Regions from separate parts of the Homo sapiens genome. Here regions 1 and 2 are each linked to region 3. The links are contacts of gene promoters, found by promoter capture Hi-C in human tissues and cell types (Jung and others, 2019). All regions are on one chromosome and are shown on one strand. The core of a region is centred on a gene start or on the middle of the fragment in contact, and the rest is flanking DNA. Distances in the headings are between cores, read along the strand shown. Region 1 overlaps ACYP2 (acylphosphatase 2). Region 2 has its middle 13 kb from the start of CIMIP6. Region 3 holds the start of TSPYL6 (TSPY like 6).

Region 1 (3,561 bases), core at 217-2,716, 36 kb before region 3:
CTAGCATTAATAATGGAAGGATAATATATAACATTTTTGCCATTCTCCTTTCTTTAACAAGTTTCTTTATTCAGTTACATGTGGACAAATAATACCATAGACTCCTTTATTATCAAATGTTTTAATGTCTGAAATATTTGTCAGATATGTAGCCCTTGATTAGTGAGTTCAGTGATTATCCAGGAAATCCTAGAGCATCCATAATTAACCTAAGACCTAAGATTCCTCATTTTTAAAAGGATGATACTGCTACTCACCCCACTGAGCTATTGAAAGGATTAGAGAGAATGTATGTAAATCACTTAGTGCAACATCTGGCCATTAATAACTATTATTACAGTGTAATTGTTTCCTGCCTTTGCCAAAGATGGTAGACAGCCTGTTTAGCAAGCTCTGTGACCCTCAGAGTCACATACTTCTAGTGCATCTCCACCAGTGAGACCTCTTGGTCTTGGCAGAGGTGCTTCTCAGCTTGCAGCGGAAAATGGCGCATCATCCAACCTCCTCAGTTGGGTGAGAGTCTGGAAGAGCCACTCAGGCTTGAGCTATGCCCAGGATTCTGAGAACCAGCTAATTGAATCAAAGGTCCTAGGAGTAGAGAAGGCAGAACAAGTGAGGGGATGACTATAACCTGTAACTTCCTTGCCGCACCGCAGCTTCTAGGTCAACACATATCTAGTGACAGATATGCCCTTCTTTCTGTTTTATTTGGTGGAACAGAATAGGTGCTGGCACAGTGGTAATGGATGGAAGTAGACTTTAGAGTCAGTATGCTTAGGTGTGAGTCCAGCTACTACTTCCTGGTTGTCTTGGAGAAGTTTCTTAAACTCTCAGTGCCTCATCTGTAAAATGAGGAGTATACTGCCTCCCTCACAGAGTTGCGGTGACGATTAAATAAAATAATCTGTAAAGTGTTTAACACAGTATCTGGAAAATAGTAAATGTTCAATTTTAAGCTAATGTCAGGGTATAGTCAGGGTGCAGTAGCAGGTAACTAAAACCACCTTAGCCATTTTAGGATGGAATTTAATACAGGGAATTAGGTACTTACAAAATAATTGGAAGAACTGGAATAACAAATCTAGATTGGGCCTGTTGGAGCAACTCTGCAGAATTGACTGCTAAAGTATAAATGTTAGAACTGTGATTCTCATGCAAGTATAAAATGACATGTCACAAATATTTTATTTAATACATTAATTAATGAGGGAATCTGTAAGATGTTAAGTCCAGTTCAAAGGAGAATTCAGAGATACATACACGTGTGTGTGTGTGTGTGTGTGTGTGTGTGTGTGTGTGTGTATACATATATACACACACAATCAGAAATGTTTCAATCAACTGGTTAATAGATGCAAAACTGGCTAAAATTCTACAGGACAGCACTGTCTGACAGAACCATAATGCAAGCCTCATCTGTAATTTAAATTTTCTAAGAGTCACATTTTAAGAAGTAAAAATAGTTAAAATTAATTTTAATAATATCTTATTTAACCCACTCTATCCAAGATATAATTATTTCAAGATGTTATCAATATAATAAAATCAATGAGATCTTTTTACATACTTTTTCATATCGAGTCTTTGAAATCTGGTGTATATTTTATACCTATAAGACATCTCAATTCAAACTTGCCACATTATAAGAGTTCAATAACTACATAGCTAGTAGCTTTCATATTAGACAATGTAGCTTTAGGGCAATAAAAAATAATGTTTGGAATTATCTTTTCTTCAGGGCTAAAATCAATTTTATATCTACCAAAAAAAAAAGATTTGTTTTGCTATGGATAAGAATTATTTGTGGCTGGTCATGCTGGTAATTCCAGCACTTTGGGAGTCCGAGGCAGGAGGATTGCTTGAGCTCAGGAGTTTGAGACCAGCCTGGACAACAGAATGAGATCCTGTTTCTGCTACATTCAAATAAAATTAAAAAGTAAAAAACAAAACTATCTGGATTTCTATAGTTTGCTGCAAATAAATTTCTACCTTACAGAGTTGTAAAATAGTTTAGTTAATAGGAAGTCACCAGTGCATACCCCTATAGAATTAGAAAATTCCTAAAGTTTCTACCAGACCATATCAGAATTTTCCTGAAAGACACTCCCGATCTCTATGACCCAATTTCAAGCCTTGGACAATTTTTCCTGATAGGCCTATTAGGGGAATCTGACTGCCAGGAAAAATACTGTATTTATGAATATACTACCCTAACTATCAGTCCAGGTATCAGGAAGGCACCACCAGAATTGTTGGCCCCCGAGCCACATGGGCTAGATCTTCACACCAGCTAAATGGATGCCTCAGGCACTGCTGCCTCTTTCTCCACTGAACTCAGTCCCAAATTCAAATTTCACAGGAATACCTCTGATTAATAATGACTAAATCACATTTGAAACTCTTGCTGCGAGGCAGTCAGGAAATGTAGCTCCTAGCTCTCCAGTGTCTGCAGTACGTGAAAGACCCCAGAAGGAGTTTGGAATAGAGGTCGACCAAGCCAATATACCACGTCTACTGCAGCCATTATTCAGTTAACAAGAGCTTCATGAAATTCTTCACTCTGGGATTCAGAGGAATTAGATTTTTTTTGCCGGTCTGTATGGTGGCCACACTTCTGTGGACCCTTTCTGGTACAGGGTTCTCAGCACTAGAACAGCATCCCAACCAACATTGAAGGGTCAGGTGCAGAAGAAGGCAACAGAGGACATGTAGAAGGCATGACCAGAGAAGAGGGAGATGATAGCCACCAACGTGTGCTGTTAGGAAAACCCAAGGCAAAGGTATTTTAAGAAGGGAGCAGTCAGTGTCCAAATGCTGTCAGGACCCAAGTAAAATAACTGAAAAGTGCTTTGGGGACCTCAGCAAGCTCAGCTTCAGTGAAGTGGTGGGGGTGGAAGCTAGATTTGCATGGTTTTAGAGTGAGGGGGAAGTTAAGAATCTAAGACAGCAAGAATAGATCATCTTTCTAGCTGTCTGCCTGTGAAGGAGAGGAGAGAGAGCAGCTGTATACATCTTTACGGTTCTGTTCTTGGCAAGGCAAGCCTGCCTAGATTTTGAATTCAATGCCTTCCAATATTTACGAGCGCCTTTGTCTCAGAAGAGCAATATTTGAGGAAGATTGCTTTAAGGATGCACAGTCCAGGATGTTCTCTCTTCCAGTTATGTTAAAATCGACTCCTACATGAAGCCAAATGAAAAATGAGTTGGCCAGACACGCCTGCGTTTTCACCCTCACCCTGATCTCTCCATCTCCCACCAAAAATGCTCATAAACAAATTGAGTTGGGGTTGGGGGATGCCATTAGCCGATAGAGAACTACTAGATAATCTAGTGCCAAATTGTGGCCCACTCATAGCAGAGGTTGTTATTTTAGGCATCACTTAAGCCTTGTCCTGGCTCTATTTTATGTCCCCACCCTAGTTTTTAATCCCTTTTCACTTTTAAATGTACATGCTCTTGTTTTACATACGCTTACAAATCACTTTAAATCCTGCTGGGAACAAAGTGAGGTGCAAACATAAAAAGCTCTGTATTTTCCCGGCTTGCTGATACTGTTTGTTT
Region 2 (3,546 bases), core at 103-2,602, 62 kb before region 3:
TTTTCAGACAGCCATCATAAGGGTCTTTTTCTAAAACTACACTTCTTACAGTATTATGAGGTACATCCTGTTTTAATCACCCCCTATTCACCCTGCTGATGATGGAGAGATTCCTGCCCTAGCATTAGGGGAATGGTTAAACTCATGACATCTGACACTGAACAGATGTGATTGGCAGCAGTTTATTAGTCACGCATACTAACAGCCAAGGACAAGAGGACGCCATGCCATGCAGGGCCACGTGGGGATTGCACTAGAAAAGAGAATGAGGAACCAGAGGCTGTGGGAAGCAGGCTGTGTGGTATCAAGAAAATGGGATGACCCGCACTTTTCGCCGAAGGACGTGATTGGCTTATTTAAATAATTCTGTCGGCTGGTAAGGAACTGAATTTAGTGATAAGCAGGGAGGGTTGTTTGGGTAGGGAACCTTTTTCATGGGAACAGAGTTGGGGGCAAGGGAACTTCAGGAAAACCATTTGAGGCCCTCCCAATCAAGCCAGATGTCAAGGCAACACACAATATTGACCCTTAATTTTAGGGTTAACACCACACAGATTATAGTACCATGGCATCATTTGTTTATTACCTTAGAATTTTACTCTAGATGTGTGTTTGTGACTATCTTGTGTCTCAGTCAAATTGTGGGCTACTTAAGGACAGCTAGCATTTAAGTCTTCCACTTAAAAAACAATGCATGTTATGGTTTGGAAAAACATGATTATCATGAAAATGATCTGTTTTGTAATATCTCAGAGTGATACTTTGAAATGTAATCAAATGAAGAGAGCTTTAACATACCCAAGTTTTGTCCTTGCATATGGTGAATTTTTTAAATGTAGTGATACTTGTAGTACTAAAGGATGTGCAGAGTAGAAATTAAACTTGTATTAGTAGTCTGAACTCATGGCTGGCAGTGATACTTGCTTATACACGTACTGCTGAATTAAACCTCTGTGATGTGCCATGGATTGACAGCTCTGAACATTTACAGTTACCAGGGTTTGCTGACATTTGAAAATAGCTCATTTTTTTTCCCCACTCTGTTTTCAAACAATGGGTGAAACAATGAATGGAACATTGGCATTCTTTTTAAAATCCGAGTTAAGCTACAGCCTAAATACCAGAATGCTGATGTCTCAAATGTATTATGCAGACTGCATATTGTAGGCACTAATGGGACCCATTAAGATAATTCTTACTCTTGCTAAATTCAAGCAAATTGGTATGGGAGAGGGATGGTAAGGAGGTCAGAGGCAAACTGGAAGAATTTATAGTGTGTCCTCCCAATTTCTTAATAATCTAATATTAAATCCTTTCTTCATCTCAACCATTAATTTTATTTTCTACTTTATTAAAATATTTGTTAAATTGTATGCAACCACAAACCCAAAGATGTCTTTTTTAAAATTATGATATACAATTAGATGAATGAGTGAAAGTTTCAACATTTTAACTTATTTTTATATTTTCAGAGTATAAATCCATGATGTCTCTGAGATAGAATATCTTTTCTTGCATTTTTTACAAATAATCCTATCTAGATCCATCACAGTGCAAAAGAAATATTGTTGTAAAGAAACTACTGATTTTATTCTAATGTGAAAACTCAAAGCTGATTTACTTAAATGAAAATGAGGTTTCTGGCTGGGTGTGGTGTCTCATGCCTTGGTAGGCTGAGGCAGGAGGATGGCTTGAAGCCAGGAGTTTGAGATTAGCCTGGACAACATGCCTCTTCTCTACCAAAAAAAGAAAAAAGAACTTAAAAAAAATGAAGTTTCCGTTGCAAGACTCTTTGTTGGCATAAAAATATCCAGAGATAAACACTATAAGGATTAAGTGCTAATTCAGTTTCTACACTATTAAAGTTTAATTCTAAAATTTTCTGGTAAAATCACGACTTATTTCAAATTAGGAATTAGAAATATAATGCATAATTTTAAATAAGCTTTTTCATATTATAAAAGGAATGCATAAATACAGATAGATATAAAGCAAAATTCTACCAGTTGGAGACAATCACCATCCAATTTCAATGGATTTGCTTCCATTTCCCACCATCAGTCTATAGCTGTGCTTTCTTATATTGTAGTCACTAGCCACATGCAACTGTTTATGTTTAAATTAATTAAAATTAAATACAACAAAAAATTTCGGTCACATTTCAAGGGCTTAATAGCCACCTGTGGCTAGTGGCAATGGTATTAGCCCAAATATAAAACATTTTTTATTATTACAGAAAGCTCTATTGGTAGAGCTATTTAGAGGTATACTTATACCTAGACTATATCCATATGAAACATAATTCTATGTACATATATGGAATTCTTTCTATGTATTCTATATCCTATGTAATATACATTTTTATGCATATATGTAACACTACATGTACACACAAAACTATATGCAAAAAGCTGCAGAGAGTAAAACTATATATAGTTTCCATGAAGACTCACATATACACACTTTTGTTTTCTGCTTTTTCTCAAAATACACAGGCTTATAATACCAGATTTTGGTTTGCCAAAAATGTCTTCATTCTTTTTTTCTCTCTCATTTTAAAAAGACAGTTCTGGTTGATAGTTACTCTATATTAAGATCTTGAAGATATTATTCCACTTTTTTCTGGCTTCCATTGTTGCTGTTGAACAGTCAGCTATAAAACCAATTGCTGTTTGGTGATCTATCTTTTCTCTCTGGCTGCTTTTAAATATTTCACCTTTGTTATTTAAACTCTACAATTTTATTATAACATGTTCATGAATTTTAAAAGTGTTGTCTTGGAATATGTTGTGCTCTCTGTGTAGACTCTAGTTTTTTGGGTCAGTTTTGCAGAATTTTCTGTCATCACCATGATTACTTATCCTCTTTCTTCCCTTTAATTCTTAGAATTTGATAAGACATTTTTAAGACTTTTCCTTCTATCTTCTGTGTCTCTACTTTCTTTCAATTTTTCAGTGTTTATATAGTATTTTGGCAATTTTCATAAATTTGTTTTCAGCTCACTAATATTCTCTTTGGCTGTATCTAATCTACTGTTTAACATGATGTCTAAGTTTATAACTTTAGCATTTATGTTTTTTGAAACATTTAAAACATTTTATTTGGTTCTTTTTCAAATCTGCCTGACCACTTCAAAAAAAAAAAAATCAAACATTATTGAGGTAGAATTCACATACAATAAAATGTACCTATTTTAAGATTATAAGTTAATGAATTTTGACAAATATATATGTGTATCCACACAAACTCACACACCTACCTGTGTAAACTTCACCTAAATCCAGATATAGAACATAGCTTTTTTAAAAGTCATTGCTCTAAGGCTTACAATGTGGAAATTTAACTTATAGTCTACCTTCAAATTATACTACTTTATGTATAGTGCAAGACCCTTACACAGAATACTTAGATTTCTCCCTCGTATCATTTGCAGTATTATTGTCATGCATACTGCTTTTGTATGTATTATAAGCCCATCAATAAATGGCTGTTATTTTTGTTGTGAGGAGTCTACTGTCTTAAATTTTCTTTAATGAGAAGAAAATG
Region 3 (3,730 bases), core at 632-3,131:
CCAAGAGGGAAGAAATCTTTGGTCTGTTCACCGTTATATCCAGAGGGCCTATAAGAGTACCAGGCACACAGTAGGTACCCAATAAACATTTGTTGAATGTTTAATAAATATTTGTTGAATGTTTAATAAATATAAAAATGGATTATGTGTTCCTTGAAGGTTTGGTAGCAGTCGCCTCAAAATCATTTGAACCTCATGCTATTTTTGTGGAAACATTTTTTTAAGCTACTGATTCCATTTGTTTATTGTCTCTAGGTCTATTTAGATTTTCTATTGCATTTCAGTCCGTGTTGATAAGTTATACATTTCTATGAAGCCATATATTTCATCTAAGTTTGAAAATGTATTGGCATAAAGCTGTCTAACATCCTGTCTTATATTTATTTAAACCATCAATGTGACTATAATTTTCTCTCCAAATATTGCTTATTTTCTCTCTCCTTTTATTATTAATCTTTGGTTAATGCTCTGTATTGTCTTACATAAATTTCTCCTGTTTATTATTACCTTTTCTCTATGTCCTTTGGCCTAATTCTATTGGTCTTTTATATATTTCTCAAATTATTTTTCATGATGAGTGATACAGCACTTGCCAATATTTCCAGTTTCCTCCTTCCAGGCTCAAGAGAAGATTACACCTCCCTGTCCTATTAAAGTTAGACAAGGCCAACTGACTAGCTGTAGCCAATGATTTATGTCACTTCTGACAGAAACATTTAAAAACCTATGCATGGGGAAAGAATTGTCTTTTCAATAAACAGTGCTGGGTCAATTAGATATTCATATGGAAAAAAAGAAATTGTGACCCCACTCATAAAAATCAATTCCAGATGGATGGCATATATAAATTTGAACAATCTTGGTGAGATAAGATTCCTCTTTTTTTCTTCTTTTTAAAAATAGAGATGGGGTCTTGCTGTGTTGCCCAGGCTGGTCTCCAACTCCTAGGCTCAACTGATCCTCCCGTCTCCGCCTCTCAAAGTGCTAGGATTACAGGTGTGAGGCACTGTGCCCAGGTGAGAGGTAAGATTTCTTAAACAGAGCAGAAAAACACTAAGGTAAAGGGGAAAATGACAAATTGGCACATATTAAGATGAAAAACTTTTGTTCTTCAAAAGGTACCATTAAGATGGTGAAAAAGTAGGCCAGGTACGGTTGCTCATGCCTGTAATCCCAGCACTTTGGGAGGCCAAGATGGGCGGATCACCTGAGGCCAGGAGTTCAGACCAGCCTGGCCAACATGGCAAAACCATGTCTTGACTAAAAATACAAAACAAAACAAAACAAAACAAACAAACAAAAAAACCGGGCATGGTGGTGGGCGCCTGTAATCCCGGCTACTTGGGAGGCTGAAGCAGGAGAATCGCTTGAACTTGGGAGGCGGCAGCTTCAGTGAGCTGAGATCATGCCATTGTACTCCAGCCTCGGCGACAGCGAAACTACGAGTCCAAAAGAAAAGTAACCCCACAGAGTGGGAGGAAATATTTGTAATACCTATACTGGAAGAGAAATATTTGTAATACCTATACTGGAAGAATGACTGACTAGTATCTAGCATGTACAAAGGCTTCCTACAAATCCATATGAAAAATAACGTCAGCCCAGTAGAGAAATAGGGAGAAGCCTCGGATACTGCACAAGAGAGAATATCCTAGTGGCCAACAAACACATGAGAAGGTTCTCAGCTCATTAGACTTTGGCTAAATGCAAATTAAAACCACCATGTAATATCATTACTCATCCAGCACGATGGCTAAAATAACAAAGACGTAAAGACACCACCACAGACTCGCGAGACTGAGGAGTGAGTGTCGCGAGACTGAGGGGTGGGTGTCGCGAGACTGAAGAGTGGGCGGCGCAAATGGGCGAGGTGTTTACTCGCCATTTTGTGTGAGGAACGTTGACGCTACCTACCTCTGGCCTGGCCTCTACCCACTGCTGCCCTGGCCGCTACCAACATGAGCCTCCCGGAGAGTCCTCACAGCCCCGCTACTCTCGACTATGCTCTGGAAGACCCGCACCAGGGCCAGAGGTCCCGAGAAAAGAGCAAGGCGACAGAGGTAATGGCAGATATGTTTGATGGCCGCTTGGAGCCAATCGTGTTCCCACCGCCCCGGCTTCCAGAGGAGGGGGTCGCGCCCCAGGATCCCGCAGATGGTGGCCATACTTTCCACATCTTGGTCGATGCGGGTCGCAGTCATGGAGCCATCAAAGCGGGGCAGGAAGTGACTCCACCACCCGCGGAGGGCCTAGAAGCGGCCTCTGCCTCGCTGACAACTGACGGCAGCCTCAAAAATGGCTTTCCGGGTGAAGAGACGCACGGCCTAGGTGGGGAGAAGGCTCTAGAAACCTGTGGGGCAGGGAGGTCGGAGTCTGAAGTGATTGCAGAGGGGAAGGCCGAGGACGTGAAGCCTGAGGAGTGTGCCATGTTCTCAGCCCCAGTGGATGAGAAGCCAGGAGGCGAAGAAATGGACGTGGCGGAAGAAAACAGAGCAATAGATGAGGTAAACAGGGAGGCAGGGCCTGGGCCCGGGCCCGGGCCCCTGAACGTGGGTCTCCACCTGAACCCCCTGGAGTCCATCCAGCTGGAACTGGACTCCGTGAATGCAGAGGCTGACAGGGCGCTCCTGCAGGTGGAGCGCAGGTTTGGGCAGATTCATGAATACTACCTGGAGCAGAGGAATGACATCATTCGCAATATCCCGGGCTTCTGGGTCACTGCTTTCCGCCACCACCCACAGCTGTCTGCCATGATTAGAGGCCAAGATGCCGAGATGTTAAGCTACTTAACCAATTTGGAAGTGAAGGAGCTCAGACACCCTAGGACAGGCTGCAAGTTTAAGTTCTTCTTTCAAAGAAACCCTTACTTCAGAAACAAGCTGATTGTAAAGGTGTATGAGGTCAGATCCTTCGGCCAAGTGGTGTCTTTTTCCACTCTAATCATGTGGCGCCGGGGCCATGGACCCCAGTCCTTCATTCATAGGAACCGACATGTCATCTGCAGCTTCTTCACCTGGTTTTCAGACCACAGCCTTCCAGAGTCCGACAGGATTGCTCAGATTATTAAAGAGGACCTCTGGTCAAATCCACTGCAGTACTACCTGTTGGGTGAAGACGCCCATAGAGCTAGACGTCGCCTGGTAAGGGAGCCAGTGGAGATCCCCAGGCCCTTTGGGTTCCAGTGTGGTTAACCTTTGCCTTTGGAATTACTCCTGCAGAAGGTTGCCTGCCACCACCAGCTGGACCTGAGCTTGGGCAACAGCATTAGGTATGCCCTTTACTTTTTTTGTTCTGACTTTCCTGTACCCTCTGTTTAAACTTTCCGTTCTCTCAACCTGAAGATTGAGACCTTGGTGGCTGTGCTGCTCCCCTTTCACCTGGTCGTCTTGCTATTCTGCATTAACATCACATGCTCCCAGCCGATGGGTCACATCCTTCTAAGCGAAGCGAATGATGCTGTAGGTTACACTGTATTTACCTTTGTTTGGACTCGGTTTGTTCCCAGGACCTCTGGTCTGGCTCCTCCTACTTGGATTTCTAGCTGTGTCTAAGAACCTATTCAGCTCACCCTGCTCTGCATCTGACAGTACAGGTGCATGGCCTGTGGACAATTGCTGGGCATTAATGAAGTCAAGGGAGAACAGCAGGGGGCAAGTTGGTCTGTGTGAATTATGGGACCCCATTACTTTTCCTGAGACTGGTCACCTATTGCTGCCTGCTACTGGCTATT

Evidence for each region. Contacts are between HindIII fragments. The study calls those that stand out against the background at their distance.
Region 1: a contact is called between a fragment that was not itself captured here and the fragment with the promoter of TSPYL6 in region 3, in 1 of the 25 tissues and cell types used here (IMR-90 fibroblasts).
Region 2: a fragment that was not itself captured here is called in contact with the fragment with the promoter of TSPYL6 in region 3 in 3 of the 25 tissues and cell types used here (IMR-90 fibroblasts, aorta and heart left ventricle).

What each region holds. Positions count from the first base shown.
Region 1 is chr2:54,290,411-54,293,971 of GRCh38, reverse strand. All of the region lies in intron 3 of ACYP2 (acylphosphatase 2), which reads right to left. Among named protein-coding and RNA genes, the nearest start is that of TSPYL6, 36 kb to the right of the region's middle. The HindIII fragment of the contact is 5,840 bases long and covers 1-3,561 here.
Region 2 is chr2:54,315,686-54,319,231 of GRCh38, reverse strand. No RefSeq gene overlaps it. Among named protein-coding and RNA genes, the nearest start is that of CIMIP6, 13 kb to the left of the region's middle. The HindIII fragment of the contact is 7,495 bases long and covers 1-3,546 here.
Region 3 is chr2:54,254,380-54,258,109 of GRCh38, reverse strand. TSPYL6 (TSPY like 6) reads left to right here and starts at 1,881. Exons shown (of 1, transcript NM_001003937.3): 1 at 1,881-3,730. The coding sequence starts at 1,959. The coding sequence ends at 3,191. All of the region lies in intron 3 of ACYP2 (acylphosphatase 2), which reads right to left. The region is part of intron 1 of LOC105374610 (a long non-coding RNA gene); the gene reads left to right. The HindIII fragment of the contact is 10,397 bases long and covers 1-3,730 here.